Regions from separate parts of the Homo sapiens genome. Here all the other regions are linked to region 3. The links are contacts of gene promoters, found by promoter capture Hi-C in blood cells and fetal thymus (Javierre and others, 2016). All regions are on one chromosome and are shown on one strand. Each heading gives the region's core, a stretch centred on a gene start or on the middle of the fragment in contact. The rest is flanking DNA. Distances are from core to core; before and after follow the strand shown. Region 1 overlaps COQ2 (coenzyme Q2, polyprenyltransferase). Region 2 has its middle 51 kb from the start of COQ2. Region 3 holds the start of COPS4 (COP9 signalosome subunit 4).

The links. The method cuts DNA at HindIII sites, captures the fragments that hold promoters and counts their contacts. A CHiCAGO score of 5 or more calls a contact.
Region 1: a contact is called between a fragment that was not itself captured here and the fragment with the promoter of COPS4 in region 3, in 12 of 17 cell types (M1 macrophages, total B cells, neutrophils and 9 more). The highest score is 7.8, in M1 macrophages.
Region 2: a fragment that was not itself captured here is called in contact with the fragment with the promoter of COPS4 in region 3 in 2 of 17 cell types (neutrophils and M1 macrophages); the score reaches 5.7 in neutrophils.

What each region holds. Positions count from the first base shown.
Region 1 is chr4:83,261,606-83,266,404 of GRCh38, forward strand. It overlaps COQ2 (coenzyme Q2, polyprenyltransferase), which reads right to left. Exons shown (of 7, transcript NM_001358921.2): 7 at 2,219-2,758. The coding sequence ends at 2,594. Among named protein-coding and RNA genes, the nearest start is that of COQ2, 21 kb to the right of the region's middle. The HindIII fragment of the contact is 4,496 bases long and covers 832-4,799 here.
Region 2 is chr4:83,231,185-83,236,009 of GRCh38, forward strand. No RefSeq gene overlaps it. Among named protein-coding and RNA genes, the nearest start is that of COQ2, 51 kb to the right of the region's middle. RefSeq lists an enhancer at 4,356-4,405. The HindIII fragment of the contact is 3,468 bases long and covers 1,693-4,825 here.
Region 3 is chr4:83,031,630-83,036,500 of GRCh38, forward strand. COPS4 (COP9 signalosome subunit 4) reads left to right here and starts at 3,554. Exons shown (of 10, transcript NM_016129.3): 1 at 3,554-3,669. The coding sequence starts at 3,596. RefSeq lists enhancers at 3,074-3,193, 3,267-3,561, 3,324-3,673, 3,774-3,823, 3,864-3,923 and 2 more. The HindIII fragment of the contact is 6,632 bases long and covers 1-4,871 here.

The DNA.
Region 1 (4,799 bases), core at 1,830-4,329, 230 kb after region 3:
GTAGAGGCATTAAACAATTTAGCAAAGAAATCCGGGAAGAGGGAGAGGCAGCCCTTGTGATATGGTATATTGGGGATATTTCAATGAATAAGACAAACAAGGTCCCACTTACCATGAAATCTCCATTCGCAGGGGAAGACAGAAAATTTTGAAATGCATGAGAAAGGTATTATGATTATCCCCGAGTGAGCCACAGAGAGGTCAGGGAACTTGCCCAAGATCACCCAACTGATAGGTGTTAAAGCAGATTCCAACCCTGGCAAGCTGTGGCTGTGACTGGCATTCACAGCTCCTGCTCCACTGGCACCCACCAAGTGCTCTGGGAATTCAGAGGACAGGTCAGTTAGAGCTGGAATAGTTGTATTCATTTACTTTTTAGACCCTGTAGCTCCCATCCTATCTCCACCCCCATCATGAAATTGTGGTAGATAATTGTCCACAGTTTAAAAAGTTCTTTCACATGATTTCTATTGAAAAACTCACAGTGACTTTGAAGCAGAAGAGTAGGGCAAGGGCCCTCCTCACTGAATAAATTCCCACGGCAATGCTGGTCATTTCAACTATCACAAACTCCTGGCAATGCTCATTTCAACTCTCCTAGGGACTGACACTCCTGATCTAGATGGATGACTGCTGTGTGTCTTTCCAACTCGAGTTGTCTTAAGTCTGTGATTCTAGAGACTAATAATCTACTTCATCGTTTTTTCTTTTCCAAAAATCTGTTCCTTACCCATTTATATTATTTTTTCAGCGTTTTCTACTGGGAGAAGGGAGGAAAAATGAAAAAGAACTAAAATAATTCAATTATGTTTAAGCAGCTTTTTGAGAATAAGCTTTTTGAGTATGTATGAATTAATGTTATGTTCTCTTGTCCCCTGTATCACAAAAAAGCTGCAGGATTTTTAGTGATTTTAAAATCTGTTCCATTTTTAACTTTCATAAACTAAGGAGAATGTTGTAAAATTGAAGTACATTGTACTCACCCTTCTTTAATTGGAACCAGTGCAATGGGTTAAGATGTTTTAAGCATTTTAAAATATAGGGTCGTATCTGTAAGAAAACAGAAATCAACATAGATTTAAACTCTGTCTATTCTGTTAAAATCAAAGCCAATCATATTTCCTCAAAAGTAGGGTACTATGTTCCTAATTCTTCTCCCCTTCAACTCACTGCTGCTATAGCAAAGTTACAGCTGCAACAACTGACCCAAGTCATTTTCAGTGGCTCAGTATTTGCTGAGTAAACAGTTAAATAATTTTTCCTATGCTTATCAGTGCCTGGCATATGTAAGTGCTGTTAGCTGCATCATCATCTTCATCATCACCATCATCGTCGCCCTCATCATGCAATTTTATATTTACTGCTGCCCACACCCACATATACAAATGACTGTCTGCCCTATAGCCTACTGTCTATGAGAGCAATTTAAATCAAGTAAGATATAGTTCAGGTTGCTAATATTAAGAGCTGAAGAGAAAAAAAAAAGCAAGGGGACAGAAGTATGGGTGGTATTTGCAGGTGAGATTTTTGAAGATGGCTAAGAAAAGCCTCTTAGAGAAGGTGACATTTAAGAAAGGTTCTGCAGTGAAGGAGTAAGACATGATCTGGGGAGAACTTTCCAGACAAAGTGAACAGTAAATGCAAAGGCCCTGGGGTAGGAGTCTGCCCAGCCTGTTTAAGGAAGAGTGAGGCCAGTGGGGCTACAGGTGTGAGTGTGAGAAGTCAGACATGAAGCCAAGTCATGGAGGGCCTGGCAGGTGGTAGGACTTTCGTTTTGTACTGAGTGACCTAGGGAGATCCTGGAGGGTTCTGGGGAGAGGAATGACATGACCTTACTCAGGTTTTAAGAGAATTACTCTGGTTACTGTGTTGAGAACATTGTGAAGGTGAGGGCAGGTAAAGGAAAAAACAGTAAACATTTAAATATCACTATCCTATAAACTATAATGGGATAAGATAAAAAAGATATAGACAGAAAATCAAGGTAGTCTCTGGTGACTGCCCACTTGTCTGTTCTGGTCACTGTGACTGCACACAGAGACCAAATCTCCCAAATAAAAGTCAGGGTTGGTAAACAGTGGTACATGTGGCTATAATAGCTAAATACTTCTATTTGGTTATTTAAATTCTCCTAAAACATAAAAAAACAGAATTGGTTTCCTAAATTACAGTTTTTGGCAGTGACTAAAGGTCACAATAAAGAACAGTAAGGCCCAACTTCCCATAGTTGCTTTTATTTTTCCCTAAAAAAAAGAGTCCATTTTCTTATACAGACATTCATTTATGTAAGACCCACATCAGGCTTTTTCTAAAGTGCCAAAACCCGTGCAATCCCCATAACTTCAGGTGAGAATTATAATGGGCAGAAGAATGTATCAACTAAAATACTCAAGGCCATCTCAAATCCTGAAGAGTCCCTGGTTTCTGTGACAAGGGGGAATTTTGCTAGCAAATAAGTAAAATCCAGGTAAATATGCTCTAAATCTTCATCTTCAGGTTCTTAATTCTTTAACATATTGTATCAGATTTTGTATTCAAATCTAATTATATTTTGTAAAAAATGTTTTAAAAATTCCTAGATAAATTTCATTCATTAATTTTCTATTTTATTCTCTATACCCTTCTTTGTTTTGTCTGTCTTCTTTTCTTTCCACAAATTCCCAAGGACAATCCCTAAAAAAACTATTAGTCCCAGTGTTCGGTTGGAGATAAATTTATTCCAACAATCCTCAGGTCTGTGGATGTCTAGAGTGTAAATCTGCAAGAGAGGAATACAAAGTTGTATTAATACCTAGTCTGGACTTTGGGTCATAACAAATAAACATGTTAACACGGAGGAGAAAACAGCAAATACAAAAAATACAAATATAAAAAATGAAAAATTAGCTAGGCACGAAGGCACATGCCTGTAGTCCCAGCTACTCAAGAGGCTGAGGTGGGAGGATTGCTTGAGGCCAAGAGGTCAAGGCTGCAATAAGCCATGATCACCCTACTGCACCCTCCTAGCCTGGGTGAGAGAGTGAGACTCTATCTCAAAAAAAAAGAAAAAGAAAAAGAAAAATTTACCATATTTTTCACTTGGAATCATCCAAGCTGTTTCTTAAGAATTTTCGGTTGAGGGTTGCATGAATGCTTGTGAGGCAACCCATACTGTTTTTAGTTCTAACGATTTAGAACGTTCTTCCTTATACTGACTGATCTAAAGTCTGTCTCCCTGCAACTCCTACCCTCCAGTTCTGGTTTTAGCGTCTGCAGCAAAGTTTCTCAATGGAGAACAAGTCCCATTTGGGCAGGACAACTCTAATGCAGGGCAATCTGGTGCAGCACAAGATATTGACTGTATCTGGCCATCATCCATATAGTCACCCCTCCTAGTTTATTATAACCAAAAATGCCCTCCCACATTTCTAAATCTCTCCTGTTCAGGGACCTACATTTAGGGAAGGGGAGCTAGAGACCTAAATCTGTTGCTAGTAATCTAGAACAAGCGTACTCCTTTTTCCCCATGGTAGCCCTGCAAATACACTAAGGAAGTCTCACGTATGTTCCTATCTTCCTTAGGCATGGGGGACTATTCTTTATTATGTGGTCTGCAGACTTACAATTATCATGATTTCCTTTCTCTTTAAATACTAAAAGGCTACGTCCATCTTTAAACACTGTATCGAAAACTGGACAGAGAGGCCAGGCGTGGTGGCTCATGCCTGTAATCCCAGCACTTTGGGAGGCTGAGGTGGGCGGATCACTTAAGGCCAAGAGTTTGCGATCAGTCTGGCCAACATGGCGAAGCCCCGTCTCTACTAAAAAAATACAAAAATGAGCTGGGCATGATGGCGTGTGCCTGTGATCCCAGCTACTACGGAGGCTGAGGCACGAGAATCGCTTGAAACCAGGAGGTGGTGGAGGTTGTACTGAGCCAAGATCGTGCCACTTCACTCCAGCCTGGGTGACAGAGGGAAGACTCTGTTTCAAAACAAACAACAACAACAACAACAACAAAACTGGACAGAGGACCATAAATGTGATTTAAAATATAAAGTGGGCTCCAAGTATTTCTTTTTTCTTCCTTTGTTTTTGAGACACAGTTTCCTTCTGTCACCCAGGCTGGAGTGCAGTGGCACCATCTTGGCTCACTGTAACCTCTGCCTCCCAGGTTTCAAGTGATTCTCCTGCCTCAGCCTCTCGAGTGGCTGGAATTACAGGTGCACACCACCATGCCCAGCTAATTTTTGTATTATTAGTAGAGACAGGGTTTATCCATGTTGGCCAGGCTGATCTTGAACTCCTGACCTCAAGTGATCTGCCCACCTCGGCCTCCCAAAGTGTTGGGATTACAGGCGTGAGCCACTGCGCCTGGCCGAATATTCCTTATAGTATTTGTGATTGTCTTAATAATTTTTGCCTTCCTGTACTATTTAATATTCAGGTGTTTAAATATTAACATATACCCATTATCCAGACCAGACAATCAAATGACAATGTCAGCCCTCATGGAGCTGAGCTATGACCAAAAAGGGATGCTGAGAAATTCTGAAGGGAAAAATGGTGACATCCTGGAAAGTCACCAATTCACATTTTAGTTTTCACAGTGAGGAAAACAGTGGAGGGGACACAGCATATGGTTTACTTTACAGACATCAGATTCTGATTTCCTTCATACCATGTTATGTGAGTCTTGCCTATACTGATAGTAATTGGCAATAATCTGTATAAAATCAGTCATCTAAATACAGCTTCATGAATATCTTCTTTTTTTTTTGTTTTTTTTTTGAGATGGAGTCTTGCTCTGTCGCCCAGGC
Region 2 (4,825 bases), core at 2,177-4,676, 200 kb after region 3:
AGTTCATGATAGGGAGAGTTGGACATCATTAGATATATATCCGAGACTTTGGTAAGACACATCTAAAAATTTTTCCTAAATAATAAGATTCCCTGGACAGAGACTCCCAAAGGGAAGATGACAAGTGTTTGGGAGAAGTGCTGCAAAATGAAATCTCTATCTTCCAAACAGGATGATGTGGAACAGAAAAAAAGGGGGAGAGTTATTTAAAGAGAGACACACTTGGCCAGGCGTATTGGTTCAGGGCACTTTGGGAGGCCGACACAGGTGGATCACTTGAGGCCAGGAGTTCAAGACCAGTCTGGCCAATATGGTGAAACCCCATCTCTACAAAAACTAAAAAAAAAATAGCTGGATGCTAATGCTCTGAGATGACAGATTTTTGGAACTGTGGATGTAAAGCCCATAGACCTTAACATTAGTGTGTCCAGTCCCATGACATTTCATTAGCTTATGGCTTCTGCTCCAGAGACTCCCACCATTTCCCCATTGATAAGGGAGAGGAAGGAGGAAGTAAGAGATTATTTAAAAACAGTTGTGAAACTACCAAGGTCTGTGGTTGAGAGTTGGTTTTCTAACCAACCTTTGTCTAGTCTAGTCTAACCTTTGACTACAGACATCATATAAGGGACACGGTTGCCTCAGATGCAGAAGATATCAGGAAGGGCTGATTTGTTCCACACTATTTGACCACACTGATTGCAACAGGATGTGGACATGTTTTGCTATGAGTGTGTCCTAAAACATTGGAAAGAAACCCCACATCCTGTCACCCTCCCTGAGGGCAAGGACACTTAGAGTGGAGAAATCTGAGGTTTAACCTGTGCTGGGGATGATGACTGATACAACAAAGGATATAGGACCTCACCTAATGAATTTCAAAGATTGCTGATGTAAGATGCACCAAGAACAAATGTTGGTGTCCTGGTAGTAGAGCAGGGGACCCCTTGTGAGACCTGTCTTTGATCTTGGGAACACAAATCTTACAACATATTTATGACTGTGAAGGCAAAAGAAATCTTCAACGATGAGGTCTGGAAATTCTGAATATTCTATGCAAAGTATTAGAATTTCACAAGAGAGGACTTTGCTCAGAAGAGAAAAATGAACAGGCACCAAGTGGTAATTCACAGAAGTGTCATTCCCATGCTCTTAACTCTCAAGTGTGTTTTGAGATCAGGAAACATGGAGTCCTTATTCTCACTGTGTCCCCTGTTTGAAGACTGATTAATTAAGATGTCATTCATGACATGGTGAGCCATCTTGAGATATTTGAATATCCTGCCACCATGGGAACCCAGACCTACCTCTGGACTAATTATTGGGAGGGGATTGTGGGAAAGAATAATGACTGGGAAATAGAAATCTTTAAGATGCTCTTGAGCAGAACAAATTTCTCCTCCAATAAAGATGTCCATGTGTTTGTATTTGGCATGGATAATACCATGTATTCTGTAACCCCAATTCTTTAGTATTAGCTCTTTGTGAAAACCTTCTTAGAAACAAGGTGATTTCACTAGATTGTGTTTGGGGGCTATAATTTTATGATCCTATGAAAGATTGTCCCCTACTTTGCCACTTCTGCCAATAAGACCTCTATGTCCTGTCTGCTCTCTTGTTCCCCCAAATAAAGCTTGGATTTCTGTACCATTAACTATCTGCCCAGCATACAAACCTTTAAGTAAGAAAGAAAGCTTCCTCTTAACCTTCATCCAAAAAAAAACAAAAACACACACAAACAAAAGAAAATCTGAACTAGGAATAGAGAGCTTTGGGGCTTCTTAAGTACAATGACTAATAAAATATAAACATACTTGCTGTCTCCAGGGGGTTTATAATTAAAATCATAATGTATATTGACATTGTTTATCAGGGTAAAGACTATACTAATTGGCAGGAATAGAATACTCTTTTCTTTTTTTCAAAAGTATAAGTACTGAAAAATTTGACCAATCTCTGTGTTCTACTTACTACTTCTAATGAAGACCTGACAATTCTACATTAATTTAACAGTAACTTTAAGCATTGGATATGTTGATTTGTAATTATCAGGAGAGACTGAGATCAAGCATTTATGTTGGTATATACATTACTAAAAATGATACAAAAATAGGGCTTTAATAAAATGAAGAAACTTTTTTTTATTTATATGCACCTAACAGAAACTGAGATCAGTATGTGCAACCTATGTCTCTGCCAAATTTATCCTCCTTCCAGCCCTACCTTGGAGAGGGGTAATCATCTAAAATTAAACTATTTGCAGACAATTTTTCTTGGAAATGTAATGTTAACAGAGGCAATTATTTTTCTTTAGGCTATAGAAAAACAAATTTTTATTTATTTATTTTTTATTTTAAAAAATAATGGAGTGGCAGGGTCTTGCTGTGTTGCCCAGGGTGGGCTTGAATTCCTGGGCTCAAGTGATCCTCCCACTTTGGTCTCTCAAAGTGCTGAGATTACAGGCATTACTGGCCTAGAAAAACAAATTCTGAATAAGTATGATAAGACAAATTCCTTGCCAGCAACTCAATTTTAGAAAATATAGTTTTTAATCTCAGGTAGCTTGGGATGGCAGAAACAAACTGTCTTACTGTTTATTCTTGAAATATACACTAAGAAACCTATATTCATAAGAAGAACTCTTTTAAAAGGGATAACATTTCATAAAAACTTTATTATTGACTTACATTTAACATATGAGCTGTAGTATTCTTCTAGAATTTTATATTCGTTTTTATTTTCTTGAGTTTTTTTGTTTTTGTTTTTGTTTTGTTTTGTTTTAGTTTTTGGTTTTTGGTTTGTTTGTTTTTTTGTTTTTTTTGAGACAGGGTCTCACTCACTCTGTCACCCAGGCTGGAGTGCAGTGGCATGATCTCGGCTCACTGTACCCTCGACCTCCTGGGCACAAGCAATACTCACTCAGCCTCTTGAGTAGCTGGGACTACAGGCACATGCCCCCATTCCTGGCTAATTTTCGTATTTTTAGTAAAGATAGGATTTTGCCATGTTGCCCAGGCTGGTCTCAAATTTCTGAGCTCAAACAGTCCTCCTGCCTTGGCCTCCCAAAATGCTGGGATTCCAGGCATAAGCCACCATGCCCAGCCTATTTTTTATTTTCTTGAATATTAAAGGCATTCCATGACTATTGAAGTCAACTAGTTTAAGTCTAATGAAGACCTGATTAAAGTTAAATATTTACCAAAATAAAAACAATTATTATTACCAAAGTAACACCAATCTTTAAAAATCATTCCAAAAAATTAAAGTATCCTGCAGGGACTATATTCAGCATGAGAGATGAAGTAGGGAATGTCAGGACTCTGAGCCTAAGCTAAGCCATCATATCCCTAGTGACCTGCATGTATACATCCAGATGGCCGGTTCCTGCCTTAACTGGTGATATTCCGCCACAAAAGAAGTGAAAATGGCCTGTTCCTGCCTTAACTGATGACATTACCTTGTGAAATTCCTTCTCCTGGCTCATCCTGGCTCAAAAGCTCCCCCTCTGAGCACCTTGTGACCCCCCACCCCTGCCCACCAGAGAAAAACCCCCCTTTTTCCTTTACCTACCCAAATCTTATAAAACGGCCCCACCCCTATCTCCCTTCCCTGACTCTCTTTTCGGACTCAGCCCACCTGCACCCAGGTGAAATAAACAGCCTTGTTGCTCACACAAAGCCTGTTTGGTGGTCTCTTCACATGGACGTGCGTGAAAGGGAATTTGTCACAGAACATTCAGCAGACAAACTTAAAGAGGGAATTTTAAACTAGCTTTCAGAACCTAGGCTCAGAGGCAGTACTCAAGTGAGGTCCTGCTGCAGATGACAACTGCAAAAGAAAATGAACATTGATTTTCTCCAAGTTAGACTCATTTATTTAGCTGTTACTCATAAAGTAGAAGCCAGGTAAGCAGTAGTGTTGACTCATACATAATTTGCAAAAGAGTTGATAAACTCGGACAACAGCAGTGGGACTGCTTTATAGTTTCAAAAGCCTCTTAACATCTTCTCTGTTTTGAGTGCATCATCTTCTCTAAGATGAATTATCTTCAGACCAAATTATATAAGTCAATCTGCAATGGAACAAGCTGGAGGAGATTTAGATTCACTATCTAGAGAAAAGTGTTCATTTGTTTAAAAGAAATACTTTAAACTGAGGGAATTCATCACCACTAGACCAGTCCTACAAGAAATGTTTGAGAGTCCTTCATCTAGAAGTGAAAGTGTCAGGCCTCTGAGCCCAAGCTAAGCCATCATATGCCCTGTGACCTGCACATATACATCCAGATGGCCGGAAGCAACTGAAGATCCACAAAAGTGAAAATGGCCTGTTCCTGCCTTAACTGATGACATTCCACCATTGCGATTTGTTCCTGCCCCACCTTAACTGAACTATTAACCTTGTGAAATTCCTCCTCCTGGCTCAGAACCTCCCCCACTGAGCACCTTGTGACCCCCGCCCCTGCCCATAAGAGAAAAACCCCCTTTGACTGTAATTTTCCACTACCCACCCAAATCCTGTAAAACAGCCCCACCCCATCTCCCTTTGCTGACTCTCTTTTCGGACTCAGCCCGCCTGTACCCAGGTGAAATAAACAGCCTTGTTGTTCACACAAAGCCTGTTTGGTGGTCTCTTCACATGGACACACATGACAGAAAGGATGATGTCTACCATCAAGAAAACACATAAGACTGTAAAACTCACTGGCATAGCAGATACACAAATGAGAAAGAGAAAGGAATCAAATGTTACCACTACAGAAAACCACCAAACCGCAATGATAAATAATGAAAGAGACAAAAGATCAATGAAACAAAAAGTTGGT
Region 3 (4,871 bases), core at 2,304-4,803:
CTAAGGGCAGATCTTCTTCACTTAGTCCACTCAGACTCACATGCCAATCTCCTCTGGAAACACCCTCACAGACACACACTAATATAATGCTGTAACAGTTAGTTTTCTTGGTATTCCTTAATCCAATCAAGTTGATACCTAAAATTACCATCAAAGGACATGTGGATATTCAGGTGGTCAGAGGGACATATTGTAGTAGAGACTGCTGATTGTCCCTCTAAACTCATTCTTTCCTATTTCTGGGCACAAGGCTGCCCAACTGGAAATTAAATTTCTAGTCTCATTGGTGGTCATATGATTAAGTTCTTGCCAATGGAACATGATCCGAATTGATGTGGGCAATCTCCTAACTTTCTGATATGGTTTGGCTCTGTACCCCAACTCAAATCTCATGTTGAATTGTAATCCCCAGTGTTGGGGAAGGGACCTGGTAGGAGGTGATTGGATCATGGCGGCAGATTTCCCTCTTGTGTTCTGGTGATAGTGAATGAGATCTCATGAGATGTGGTTGTTTGAAAGTCTGTAGCACCTCCCGCTTTGTGTTCTCTCTCTCTCCTGCCTTCATGTGATGACATACTTTCTTCCCCTTTGCCCTTCCACCATGATTGTAAGTTTTCTCAGGCTTCCCCAGTCATGCCTCCTGTAAGGCTGTGGAACTATGAGTCATTTAAATCTCTTTTCTTTTTTTTTTTGAGACGGAGTCTCGCTCTGTCGCCCAGGCTGGAGTGCGGTGGCACGATGTCGGCTCACTGCAAGCTCCGCCTCCCGGGTTCACGCCATTCTCCTGCCTCAGCCTCCCGAGTAGCTGGGACTACAGGCGCCCGCCACCACGCCTGGCTAATTTTTTTGTATTTTTAGTAGAGACGGGGTTTCATCGTGTTAGCCAGGACGGTCTCGATCTCCTGACCTCGTGATCCACCCGCCTCGGCCTCCCAGAGTGCTGGGATTACAGGCGTGAGCCACCATGCCCGGCCTAAATCTCTTTTCTTTACAAATTGCCCAGTTTCAGGTAGTTCTTTATAGCAGTGTGAGAACAGACTAATATACATTCTTTTTTTATTTATTTTATTTTTGAGATTTCACTCTGCCACCCAGGCTGGAGTGCAGTGGCACGATCTCAGCTCACTGCAGCCTCCGCCTCCTGTGTTCAATCGATTTTCCTGCCTCAGCCTCCTAAGTAGCTGGGACTACAGGCACCCGCCACCACGCCTGGTTAATTTTTTGTGTTTTTAGTAGAGAAAGAGTTTCACCATGTTGAGCAGGCTGGTCTCGAACTCCTGACCTCAGGTGATCCACCTGCCTTGGCCTCCTAAAGTGGTGGTATTACAGGCATGAGCCACCACGCCTGGCTGAGAACAGACTAATACACATTCTTAAAAGGGATTCCTTCTTCAGGTATTCTTCTCTTTCTCTTTCCCAATAGAGGGAATATGCCATTTATCACACATCAAGATGGCAAAAATCCAAAAGTTTGACATCCTTTGTAGTCAAGGCTGTAGGAAGCTGCACCCCTATATATTTCTGGTAGGAAGGCAAAATGATACCATTCCTATAAAATGCAATTTGGCAATATCTACCAAAATTGTATGTCTATCCTTTGCCTCATTTCTGGTAATGTGTTCTACCTGTACATATATAATGTATGCAAAGGTTATTCATCGCATTGATTAAAAATAACATGTCCTATAAGGATTAAATAAACTAAGGCATACTCTCACTGTGTAATATCCTCTAGCTCCAAAAAGAGTGATTTTGAAAGACTGGACAGCTGGTAAGATGTCCAGCTGTCTTAGTCTGTTTTCTGTTGCTTATACCAGAATACCTGAAACTGGGTAATTTATAAAGAAAAGGAATTTATATCTTAGAGTTATGAAGGCCAAGAAGTCTAAGGTCAAGGGGCCACATCTAATGAGACCCTTCTTGCTGGTGGGGACTTGCTAGAGTTCAGAAGCAGCACAGGGTATCACATGGCAAGGGAGTGACCTTCCTAACATGCTAGCTCAGGTCTCTTCCTCTTCTAATAAAGCCACATGTTCTCTCCCATGACAACCCATTAATCCATGAATAGATCAAGGGTTTTGCCCTCATGATCCAATCACCTATTTAAGGCCCACCTCTAAATACTGCCACATTAAAGATGAAGTTTCAACATGAGTTGTTTGTTTTTTTTTTTTTTTTTGAGACGGAATTTCCCTCTTGTTGCCCAGGCTGGAGTGCAGTGGTGCAATCTTGGCTCACCGTAACCTTCGCCTTCCAGCTTCAAGTGATTCTCGTGCCTCAGCCTCCCGAGTAGCTGAGATTACAGGCACGTGCCACCACACCCAGCTAATTTTTGTATTTTTAGTTGAGACGGGGTTTCTCCATGTTGGTCAGGCTGGTCTCGAACTCCCGACCTCAGGTGATCCGTCCACCTCGGCCTCCCAAAGTGCTGGGATTACAGACGTGAGCCACGGCGCCAGCCCTCAACATGAGTTTTGGAGAAGACAATTATTTCAAACCACAGTACCAGGAAAAGTGCAAAAAAAAAAAACCAAGGCAGAACAATTATGTGGTGTTGCTTGTGAGAGGTAAAATTTTATTTTATTAATATTTGCTTGTATTTGCAGAAATTCTATAAGAATACATGAGTATTGAATGTTATACAAACGCAGGCGACCATATAATCTTCCATTGAAATGGAACGGTTTCTAGAATGAAAGGGAGGATGTTATTATTATTATTATTATTTTTTGAGACCGAGTCTCGCTGTGTCTCCCAGGCTGGAGTGCAGTGGCGCGATCTCGGCTCACTGCAAACTCCGCCTCCCGGGTTCACGCCATTCTCCTGCCTCAGCCTCCCGAGTTGCTGGGACTACAGGGGTGCACCACCTACGCCCGGCTAATTTTTTTGTATTTTTAGTAGAGAACGGGGTTTCACCGTGTTAGCCAGGATGGCCTCGATCTCTTGACCTCGTGATCCGCCCGCCTCGGCTGCCCAAAGTGCTGGGATTACAGGCGTGAGCCACCGCGCCCGGCCGAAAGGGGGGATATTAATCATTACTCCAGGACGACAGAGGGAAAATCGCTTTGTACTGGACAAACTGGAATGTCTGACCAACCATTATAAAGTGCACGGAGTGGGAGGAGGAATAGGGACATTTTAATTGTATTTCTAAAAAGTATCTTCTGTGGTGAATCGGAAACAAAACTCATTCTTTACCACAGGCAGTTTAAGCGCTGCCTGAAAGATCGAAGGACGGTAAACCACAGACGTGAGAAACGGAACTTTGCGAAAACGCAGTCGTTTTATGTACCGGCTACTCATTGGAGTTACACCAGAGACTCACTACTGGAGTTCATCAGCCAATCCAAAGTCCAAGCGTGAGAGCCAGAGCCTGTAGGAGAGACCTGGGCAGGCCTCAGACCTGAGGAGTGGAGCTCCGCATCACTCAACCCTGGGGGCGGAGCTAGCCCAGGCTCCCACACCCGACGCTCTGGCCCACACAGACGCTACTCTGTAGCATCTCAGGTTCCCTCTGGCTGCACTCTGGAGGACCACACTCGTTTTCTTTTTGGCTGCCAGAGGCCCCCGCATCCACCGCTGAGCTGGGAGAAAGATGGCGGCAGCCGTGCGACAGGATTTGGCCCAGCTCATGAATTCGAGCGGCTCTCATAAAGATCTGGCTGGCAAGTGAGTATTTCCCAGGAACGCGGGAGTACAGAGGTGGGGAAAGAAAGCCACAGCCTTAATCTCCTTAGGTTGGCCACGGCTCTTGGGCGTGAAGCTAGGAGCCGGCCTGACGTCCAAGGGGGCGGGCCTGAGGTCGGCTGGGGAGGCAAATGTTGGGAGAAGCAGAAAGCTGGAGGGGACCTTGTGCAGGGGCCTTCGAGGCTATAGACTTGAAATGATTGTCAGCTTGTTCAGTTCTTGATAGAATCTTTCTGGTCCCTTAGGATTTTGGAACAGCGGTCTGAGAGACGACTGCTACCCTGGCCTTAGTAGCCTTCCCTGGTACCTCTTCCCATCGCTGGCCGGCCTCACACCGAATCTGGCCTCTCTTTGGACCTTCCTCCTCTTTTTTTTTGATTCAGAGAAATGTATATTCTGGGGCCTTGATGCTGCGTTTTTCGGGGAGATGGCTTCTTGGGGCTGGCTGAGGTTGAGGCGGTATGGCCGCTGTCATGTCGTCCAGACCATTCAGACTGTCTTCTGTGGGTCCTTGTGTTTCGGGTATTTTCTCTGCCACCAACTCTGATGGCACATAGGCGGAATGTGCTCATATCGTGGGTCAGGATGTCTACAGTAGTGATGTTTGCAGGAATCTGAATTTTGTCGAAATTTATATAGAATGCTTAGGTTCACTCCAAGTTAAAATGTGTGACGTGCCTGTTCTGCAAGCAGTTGTCAACAGTATTAAGCATAGGTAGGTAGACGTATATTGTTCATTTTCTCTTTGTAGATGTCACAGCATTTCTCTTTTGTAATGAACATGCTTTCTGTTTAAAGTATGCCTCTCTAGGCCGGGTGCAGTGGCTCACGCCTGTAATCCCAGCACTTTGAGAGGCTGAGATCACTTGAGGCCTGAGAGATCTGAGAGGGAGGATCACTTGAGGGCAGGAGTTCTAGACCAGCCTGGGCAACATAGTGAGACCCCCCCCCCCGCCGCCACCCGTCTCCGTAAATAAATAAGTAAATAAAGTATGCCTCTCAAGTTGATCTTAATGTTTACATCCTGACAGCTGAAATCACTTTGATGTATATTAATGGGATACACCTGTTCTAACCTGGTCATTGAAATTCTGACTGTTTTAAGTAGGCTAGGCTGCCTTTTCTCTGGTGGCAAACGTAATCTACTTTTATCAGTGGGAAATTCAGCCGTATATTTTGGGCTT